Regions from separate parts of the Homo sapiens genome. Here region 2 is linked to region 1. The links are contacts of gene promoters, found by promoter capture Hi-C in blood cells and fetal thymus (Javierre and others, 2016). All regions are on one chromosome and are shown on one strand. The core of a region is centred on a gene start or on the middle of the fragment in contact, and the rest is flanking DNA. Distances in the headings are between cores, read along the strand shown.

Region 1 (5,249 bases), core at 734-3,233:
TTTTCCCCCGTCTCCATTCTTTTCCGAAAAGTGGCTGCTCCTTCTCTTTAGTAACAGAGGTTTTTTGGTTAGTTGTTTTGTTTGTTCGTTTCTTTGTTTTTTGGTACTTTGATGCTTTGGGTGTTTAAGGTTTAGCTTACCATGGCCAGTCAACTAGCCCTGCCTTCTCACCTCTCCAGTGACTGGCCACAGAAAGCTAAATATTAAAAACCCAAACTATCCTAGCTTGCCACACGGTCCTGTCAGGAATGTCCTGGGTGTCTCCAGAAATCTTTAGCCATGACTTTGATCAGAAATAATTTCTTCCCAGCTTCAATGAAAATACTGGAGATCCCTCATTCTCTAACAATGCCCCAAAAATGGCTCCAGTAGAAAAGTCATAGTACAAGCCGCTACCTATGACTACCTTGGTTTATCCAATGCAATATCACTATCAACCCTCCATCTAAATGCCTGGTCCAGGTGCTTTACAGGCTTGGTGTCACATAATCCTTTCAATGATCCCATGCAACAAATCTTATTAACAAATCCTGCTTCATTTTACAAATGTCAAGACCAAGCTTTGAAAGGAAAATGGTTCACCCAAGAGCTTTCTTGTGAGTGCCTGAGGTTGGACTTAATTAAGCTCAAGACTTTGGGATTCCAAAGACCCTGCATTTTACCAGGATACCAAATTGTTCCTCTGAGAATCCCAAGTGAATAAAAAGAGCCAACATCGACTATGCCCAGCACCGTGTGCTACATGCTTTTTATAAATTATTTCATCTAGTTCTAACAAACAAATGAAGAAGCAAAGAAAACACCCTGGGAGGTAGGTATTGTTGTTATCATTCCTATTTTACAAATAAGGTAGGTGTTGGGTGCTGTGGCTCATGCCTGTAATCCCAGCACTTTAGGAGGCTGAGGCGGGCAGATCACCTGAGGTCAAGAGCTCAAGACCACCCTGGCCAACATGATGAAACCCTGTCTCTATTAAAAATACAAAAATTAACTGGGTGTGGTGGCGGGCACCTATAATCCCAGCTACTTGGGAGGCTGAGGCAAGAGACTCAATTAAACCTGGGAGGCGGAGGTTGCAGTGAGCCAAGACCATGCCATTGCATTCCAGCCTGGGTGACAGCATGAGATTCTGTCTCAAAAGCAACCGAAAACCAATTAAGGGAGGTGAGGCCCAGAGCAAGAAGGTCCACAAAGATGACATGGAGGTTAAGTGGCAGACCTAAGGCTCAAACTCAGACCTTTCTGCCTCCAGACCTCCAGAGCCCAGGCTCTTATCCATTAGGCTACACTGACTCTCAGCTGTCATTTAAGGGAGACTATGGTGATGTAGGGCTGGGAAGGGGGAGCAGGTTAGCCACAGAGAACTAGTGAAAATGCACCATTGGATCTAGTTCATTCACACCCCTAGCCATGCCACCGGAATTGGAGGTGACTTCGTATACGTGGTTTGTTTTTCTTTTTTTTTTTTTTTTTGAGACAGAGTCTCTGTCTCCCAGGCTGGAGTGCAGTGGCATGATCTCGGCTCACTGCAAGCTCCGCCTCCCGTGTTCACGCCATTCTCCTGCCTCAGCCTCCCGAGTAGCTGGGACTACAGGCGCCCACCACCACACCCGGCTAATTTTTTGTATTTTTAGTAGAGACGGGGTTTCACCGTGTTAGCCAGGATGGTCTCCATCTCCTGACCTCGTGATCCGCCCGCCTCGGCCTCCCAATGTGCTGGGATTACAGGCGCGAGCCACTGCGCCCGGCCCACATGGTTTGTTTTCTAAGTGATTATCTCTCCGTGGAGGCCTGTAATTGTTTCTGTCCTATTTTACCTGAGCATCTCCTCCCCCTACTGAATTACCCAATTCCTAACAAGTTCTCTGTTCAAGGTCCCCCTTCGCTGTGGCCAGAAGCCAAGTTCTGCTGGGTGCACAATCCTGCGGATCACCTGATCAGAGAGAACTGAACCTACAAAAGAGAGCTCAACCTCCTTTTCCATACCTACCAGGGACCTAGTTCAGCTACGTCCTAAACAGTACCAGGTAAGACAGAGGTGAAGGTCAGCTTCTATCTGTGTGTGTGTGTGTGTGTGTGTGTGTGTGTGTGTGTGTGTGTGTGTGTAATCCAATTTTAAGTTCTGGCAATGCTACTTTTAAGTTGAGTGACCTTGGGCAAGTCACTTAACTTCTTGGCACTTCATTTTAGAGGCAAAATGACAATGGTGATATTGGGTGAGAGGAATAAATAGGAACGTACATGTAATATGTTTAGCACAGTGGCTGGCATGTAAATGGGGACTGGTTTAGTGTCAGGCAGCTCTGAATGTGGTGAGCCGTGGGAGACAGGCACAAAGTCAGAGATGAATGTTTGAAGGAAATCTTTTCTATCTATGCAGAAGTTGGCTCACTTTCTATAAAGTGAATGCCTTCTAAAAAAAATTATCCAAGCATAGTAATACATGCCTGTGGTCCCAGGTACTTGAAAGGCTGAGGCAGGAGGATGACTGTAGCCCAGGAGATTGAGGCTGCAGTGAGCTATGATCACACCACTGCACTCCAGTCCAGGTGACAGTTTCAAAAAAAATGGTTAACATCTAATGGGGAGGGGGTTGGCTTCAGAATTTGCTGGGAGTTAAAAGGTACCTCAACATTTATTGAGTCCTTACCGTGCACTTCATTCAGTGCCAGCAAGTAAATTATCACACTAATCCTTATGGGGAGCTGGGAAGAAGGTATTACTACTGTGCGCTTAAGTTCAGAGACATGAACAGCACCAAAGACCCAGCTGCTAGACAACAGAGACAAACATCTAGCCCTGGCTCTGTAACTCTGGGATACCCTATAACACAGTAAGTATGTTGCTTCATTAAATAGCTTTATCAGTCCCAAGTCCTGTGAAGTCAAAGCTTAGTTGCAGGAGCTGTTCAAGGCACTATGTATCTGGGAATACAGTGGGGAGCCCAGCTGCCTCTCAAAGCTACCATGTCAAATTGCTTTCAGAATGCACTTTAAGCAGTTCAGAAAATTGTTCTTTAAAATGATTTCATAGGATGTGCTTTAATGATATGCTCTAACAGGGTAGGAACTCTTTCAGTTTAATTAATCTCCAATAGTATCTAAAACTGTACATGGTACATCTATAGTAAATACTTGAGAAAGAAAAAATACATTTTTCTATAACTCAGATAATTTGTGGGCACACTGGCTTTTCTCTTTCTGACTTTCATCACTCAGTTTTCTGAATTATGACAAAGAAGGGAAGAATCTAACTTTTTGTTGAGCACTTACTATGTCCAGCACGGTGAGAAATAGACAAACTAAGCTTTGTGAAGTCAAATCTGAAGACAGATGTGGATGGAAATAGATATCGAAACAGAGACAGAGACGGAGATAGAGATAGAGACAGAGATAGTGATAGAGATAGAGACATGCATCACTTAACAACCAAGATACGTCTGAGAAATGCATTGTTAGGTGATTTTGTTATTATGGGAACTCATAGAGTGTACTTACACAAACCCACAAAGCATAGTCTTCTACACATATAGGCGATATGCTATAGCCCATTGCTTCTAGGCTACAAACCTATGTAGCTTGTTGCTGTATTAAATACTGTAGGCAGTCATGACACGATGGTAAGTACTTGTGTATTGAAACATAGAAAAGGTACAGTAGAAATATGTCATTATAATTGTATGGGCCACTCTGTATATGTGATCCATCACTGACAATGACATCATATTGTGGCACATGACTACAGTGTACATGTGTTATTGTTATAGACATTAATATTAATGTATAGATATACACAGATAGTGATATAGGTATAAATGTAAATATTGGTATATAGATACAGAAATAGATTTAGAAATGAAGCTTAACATACATACAGAGATAGAGATAGACGCAGACATAGACATATAGATATCTGATTTTCAGTCCTCAACACTTGGAGATCAGGTTCTTATATATCTAGATAGATAGATAGATAGATAGATGATAGATAGATAGAAAATAGGTAATAGGTAGATAGATAGACGATAGATACATAATAGATAGGTAATAGATAGATAAATAGATGATAGATAGATAATAGATAGGTAATAGATAGATAGATAGATAGACAGATAATCAGTGAAAAAGCTGGACATATACCAGTCCTATGGTGTCTATGTTCAGGTATTCATCCCCATTCCTTCTCTTTAGACCTTAACTCCAAAAGTTAAGGAAATTTTTTTCCTCTGGCTTAACTACTCTATAAGAGCTTCCCTATAAAGTGTGTTAACTAGCAACAGCTCTTATTTCTAAAATACTTGTCCGTGCTGAATGCTTTTTGCAGGATATCGTGCATTTATCACCATGGCTTCAGGCAATAGGTGCTGCCAATATGCCTATGTTTTTATAGGGAGGTTAAATAAATTGCCCCAAGTTATGTGGGTGGGAAATGAAAGTGCTGGAATTTGAGCCCGTGTTGTTTGATCTCTAGGGCCATGCTGTTTCAGCTACCACAGTTCTCCACAGCTGGGCACTGTGTTTGGCCCTCTCATGTGACGAAGATTAAATTAGAATCACAAACACATTTGTGAGATGATGCCAAAGTCATTTCTTCTTTATTTGATCAAGAGGAGTACATTGGTTTGCTAGGGCTGCCATGAAAATTACTAATGACTGAGTGGTTTAAACAACAGAAATTGATTTTCTCAAAGTTCTGAAGGCTGGAGGTCCAAGATCAGGGTGGTTTTCTCTGAGGTCTTTTTCCTTGGCTATCTTCATATTCACATGGTCTCCCTCTGTGTGTGTCTGTGTCCTAATCTCCTCTTTTTATAAGGACACCAGTCATATTGGATTAGGGCCCACCCTAATAACTCATTTTAACTTAATTACATTTTTAAAGACCCAATCTCCAAATACAGTGGTGTTCTGAAATATTGGGGTTCGTACTTCACCACATACATTCATGGGGGACACAGTTCAAACCATGATAACTGGTTAATGGATTCCCTCACTATATCTCTCCCTTTTGTTTTGGTCTTTAGTCACTTAGTAAGGGGTTGTTTGGACTGTCTTCAGGAAAAATGGTGAGTTTGTATTTTAAGGAAGACCCTGAGGTCATATAGACACCTGCATAGAAAAATTGCAACTGAGTTTGATATTCTCACCCAAACTAAGCTCATGCCTGTGGAAGGAGGTGTGTGTTGGAAAATGTAACAGAGGTGATGGGCTTCTAGAACCAACTTGGCTACAATATTGTTTGAAATGTTTGTT
Region 2 (5,249 bases), core at 759-3,258, 310 kb after region 1:
TCATTTGAGGTATACTCTGTGAGTGGTGCCACTTAAATGAGGAAATTTGGGGATATGGGAGCATCAACAACTCAGCCCCCCTGAGTCCTGGTGCCTCCCCTGCTAGGTTATGCTGCCACTTCATAGAAGCATGAATCACCTTCTTTTTCTACCGTTAACATTTATAGTTCCCACAAGGAATGTCCAATTGGGTCATTTTTGCCTCCATCCAATATTGAACATGCGTGTTGCTTGAAGTTTCATCAATGTAGTTCCAAGCTTGTGACCTCCCTCTAACTCAGGCTGTTCTTCAGGATGCCAGCTTGATTTTACTTCAAAGCCCTTCGAGCAATACCTTGTAAGAGAAATCCAGCCTAGGCCATTTTCTTTACATGAGCCTGTGAGCACGGCAGGCATTTCCACTTTGCTGAAAGACTCCTCCAGCTAGTTCTGCACATCCCTCATCCACACTAGAATTCAGGCCAGCACTTGTGCATCTATTTCATGGTGACTTTTACAGGGAGGAGCAGAGAAACTTGCAGTCTCACTCCACTTGCTGTGGAATTGGTAAACTAATGGTTTACATAGATAAAACATCCAAACCATCTCTTTTGCTGCAGCCCTAATTTCTAATCTGAGACCCTCAATGGAGGTGTTAAAAGGCTTAGAGCCATACATTTACACAAACACATAACACACCTCAACACATTCCCCTTCCAAAAATGGTGCAGTGGATGGATAAGGCTGGGAAACCTGTCCAGTCCACATGAGAATAGAAGGCTCTGCTCTGTTTTAACCAGGGCAGAAGGGTGAGTTCATGGTTCTTTAATTCTTATGACTTAAGAACTGACACTAAATCTGAGGCTACAGAGGGAACCAATCAATTTCACATTCTTGAATTGCATTTGACACAACCAACATGCATACTTTAAACCTAAAGCCTTTCCACTAGCAGGTATTTCAAAGCAGTGAACTCAACAACAGCAGAAATTTTCTTATCTAAAAGGGACACTCAATTAATCTCATTACATTTGCATCTTTGATTCCTGCCAATACATAATTAAATTCAAAATGAGTTCTTAAAAAAACTAGCCGGCCTTCTAAAGTGGCCTTTGGAAAAACAAATCACTTGGGGAAAGCACTATGAAAGCTTTCTTCAAGGGTAAATGGGCTCTTTGCAAAAGAGATTATTTTCAGACACTGCCCCCAGGGACCACCCCAGTCTCAGATCCTTAATGGGTGACCAGCTTTCTCTTCTCTCTGAGAACTCCAGGCCAAGAGCCAGTGGTTGGGGGAGCTTTCCTCTCAATGTTCTTTGCAGTCCCACATTGTCCACATGTGGACATTGCCACATGTCCACGACAGACCTCAGCATCTTTGATTTGGTCCCAACAATCTGCTGCTCCTTATGTCCTGCCTTCACTGAAAGTACCACCATCCACTCAGTATCAAAGTCAGAAACCTCAAGGTTGTTCTTGATTCTTCTACTCTCACATGTAATCCATCACCACGTCCTGTGGATGCCACTTTCTAAATCCCTTTGCAATCTCTGTTCTCCCCATCCCACCACCACTGCCTTGGTTCAGGCCTCATTATTCCTCACCTGAACCACTGCAGCAGCCTCTGAGATGGTCTCCCTGCCTTCTCCAATGCTGTCCTGCAATGCATCCAGAGAGACTTCCTCTAAAATGCAAATCTGATCAGGTCATTCAGTAGCTAAGGTCTTCTGCTTGATCTAGCCCACAGCTACAGCCTCTGGGCCTTTGCACTTGCAGCTTCCATAGTATCCTTCCTACACTCCTTCACCTGGATTGTGAAGTTTATGCCCCTCATTGGTAGGCTGTACCCACCTTCACTCCCACTTAGTCTGGCTGGGAGGCCTTCCTATGCTCCCACTGCCTTCTTTTTAACCTCTCTCTCTCAGCATTCGCTATATGGTATCAAAACTGCTTTTCATCGTGTACATTGCATGATGTTGGGGGCCAAATCTTATTCATCTCCTGATTCCTAACATTCAGCATTGTGCTTGGAGCATGGTAGGCTTCCATAGATGTTAAATGAATGAATAGATGAATGAATGAGATTTCCTTTGGCCCATAATTTTCTCCATCCACATTAACTTGAATGAATCAAGGAGAGAAGGACTCACTACCATTAGTGGAGAGAGGTCAAGATAAGATTAGGAGCTGTCTAGGGTCCTTTATCACTTGTCCCTAAGGCAGAGGTGACAAGATTCTGTCCTAGGAGTAGGTTAGATGATGATGGTGAGCATGATGTGGAGACGGTAATGTGGATGGAATAATGATGAAGATGATGATGATGATGACAATGGTGATGATGGTGATGGTAATGATTATTAATTATAGTGGTGATGATGACAATGGCGATGATGGTGCTAATGATGATGATGATTAACTATGGTGATGATGACAATTTCGATGATGGTGCTGGTGATGACGATTATGATGATGATGACAATGGTGATGATGGTACTGGTGATCATGATTATTAACTATGGTGATGATGATGACAATGGCGATGATGGTGCTGGTGATAATTGTTATGATGGTGATGATGACAATGGCAATGATGGTACTGGTAATAATGATTATTAACTATGCTGATGATAATGACAATGGTGATGATGGTGCTGGTGACGATGATTGTTATGGTGATGGTGATGACAGTGGTGATGATGGTGCTGGTGATGATGGTTATGGTGATGATAATGACAACAATGGTGATGATAACAAAGGCCATTTATCAAGCACCTGTGTTTCAGGCACGGCACTTGAAAACCTTGTCCCCATCTTGTATATGAAGCACGTAGGTGTCAGAAAGGTTAGATCATTTGCCCAAGGTCACACAACTGGTAAGTGGTGAAGACTGGATTTGAGACCAAGCTTGACACCAAAACTGGTGCTAAATTCATCTTCTTGCACTGTGCTGATCATTGGAAACTTCATTCCTTCAGTATTTATTGAATACGGTTATTTCCCAGATATATTGTAGGCACTGAGGATATAGTGGTGAACAAAACAGGTGATCATCCTTGCCCTCCTGGAACTGACATCCTAGTGAGAGAAGACAAAAGAAAAATAAGTAAAATATATAGTATTTCCTACGGTTAAAAGTACTATGGAGAAAAATACACAAGAGTGATAGGGAATGCATGGGGTGGATGGAGATGGGGCTGTAGTATTAAATAGGATGGCCAGGGACAGCCTCCCTGGAAAGGTAACACTTTAGCAAAGATCTTAAGGTGGTGAGGCAGTGATCCATGCAGATTTAGGGCAGAAGGAACAGAGAGTAAAAATACCCTGGGGTGAGGGAGATTGTGCCCATTTGGCTAAAGATATAGGGTTTCTGAAGAGAAGAGGACTAAGAAATGAGGCCAGAAAAATAGGGAGGTACAGATCTTTTAAAAACTTAAAGGCCATTGCAATGGTCAAAACAAATTGGTGGCTGGCCCCTGAGAAACAAGAAGAGATTGATGACAATCCTGAAGTCCCTATCAGCTGTGAGTACCTCTGTATACTGTACATGGCCCTATGGAATGGGCAGAGGGTTATTCTCAGAATATTTTTTTCATGCTTGATCAGAAGTTGGATCTAAAGTAGGGTTTCTTATCCTAAGCCCTACGGACATTTGACTAGATAATTCTTTGCTTGTGGGGCTGGGGGCTGTCCTGAGCATTGTAGAATGTTTAGCAGTATCCCTGGCCTCTACCCACTAAATGCCAGTAGCATCTCTTTTTCCAACTGTGACAACCAAAAATGCCTCCAGACCTTGCAAAACGTCCGACATTGAGAACCACTGGTCTAAAGAAAGGCAGACTCAACTTCCTTGTGCTGGGATCAAACTCCAGTCCCTATACTCATCACCTCCCCATCACCCATCAGCCCCTCCTCTGACTCACATTCACTGCTCAGAGAAGGAAACCTGGGGTTTTCTACTAAAGACCAGGCAAACGTTAATTCTAGGTCCATCAGCCATTAACACATCTACACACCAAGCAGACAGTCAGGGAGCCATTGCCTATTCTAACATGGCCCTGAGTCCCGTGTGCTTACCCTGAAACCCATGTGAGAGCTCCATAATAGGCCTAGAACTTGTGGTGGATGGTTTGGTGATGGTCACTGTTGTTCCCTTTCATCAGTAGCCGGAAGATCTTTGGGGTTCCTGACATTGCCATGGGACCCTCCCTTCCCAGAGAGAATCTGGTCAGAGCAAGACCAAAGAGTCTCCACCTATGTCATCAAAATAGCTAATGTTTATTTGTACCAAAGTTTTGCACACCTTGTCTTATTTTGTAGGATCACTCTGAGACGTAGGATCTATTAATAACCCCACTTTTTATGAATGAGGAAACTGAGTCACAGAGACTTAAAAAAATAAAAACAACTTTCCTGGGCCACAAGGAAAGTAAACCACCATAACTGCCTCTTTTTGATGAGATAGCCTAAGGAATTCACATTCATTGAGCATCTAGTATATGGCAGACAATGAGCTAGGGCCTGAGAGAAGTTGGGTCCATGGGCACCCTTGGCCTCTGCCTATCTACAGCCCACTGGGCACTGCTCAGCCTAAGTGCCAATATACACGTGAATTGTCTCCATACCTGGCCAAACTGGCATTTCCAGTTGACCAGGGCAGAATGTAAATGCTGAGACCTGAGGAGTGTATGCATTCATTTCACACCTACAAACTTGGAATTCAAGGTTCCAGAGCCCAGAAGGAAAACCAATTTGCAATTTTTTTTTTTTTTTGAGATGAAGTTTTGCTCTTGTTGCCCAGGCTGAAATACAATGGTGCAATCTTGGCTCACCGCAACCTCCACCTCCCAGGTTCCAGCGATTCTCCTGCCTCAGCCTCCCAAGTAGCTGGGATTACAGGCGTGTGCCACCACGCCAGGCTAATTTTGTATTTTTTGTAGAGACGGGGTTTCTCCATGTTGGTCAGGCTGGTCTCAAACTCCTGACCTCAGGTGGTCTGCCCACCTTGGCTTCCCAAAGTGCTGGGATTACAGGCGTGGAGTCACCACGCCTGGCCCAATTTACAAAATTTTTAAAGAAAGAAGCCAGAAAATCGGACTCTAAATTTTAAAGAGTGGCGTTGGCTGTGTAGGTTGTCTCTGCTCTGATGGGAACCACCTGGAACAGAAGAAATGAAAAACATGCCCCCATTAATCTGCTCCAAGAAAAAGATTTTTCAGACCAGCTGGCCAATTTGGTCATTTAGAGCATGAACCTTGGAGCCAGTCAGCCTTC

Evidence for each region. Contacts are between HindIII fragments. The CHiCAGO score rates a contact against its expected background, and 5 or more counts as called.
Region 2: a contact is called between a fragment that was not itself captured here and the fragment with the promoter of ACSM1 in region 1, in 3 of 17 cell types (M1 macrophages, endothelial precursors and naive B cells). The highest score is 6.0, in M1 macrophages.

The regions. Positions count from the first base shown.
Region 1 is chr16:20,694,414-20,699,662 of GRCh38, reverse strand. ACSM1 (acyl-CoA synthetase medium chain family member 1) reads left to right here and starts at 1,983. Exons shown (of 14, transcript NM_001318890.3): 1 at 1,983-2,027. It also overlaps a transcript of ACSM3 not described here. The HindIII fragment of the contact is 2,330 bases long and covers 563-2,892 here.
Region 2 is chr16:20,388,412-20,393,660 of GRCh38, reverse strand. All of the region lies in intron 2 of PDILT (protein disulfide isomerase like, testis expressed), which reads left to right. Among named protein-coding and RNA genes, the nearest start is that of PDILT, 14 kb to the left of the region's middle. The HindIII fragment of the contact is 1,753 bases long and covers 1,132-2,884 here.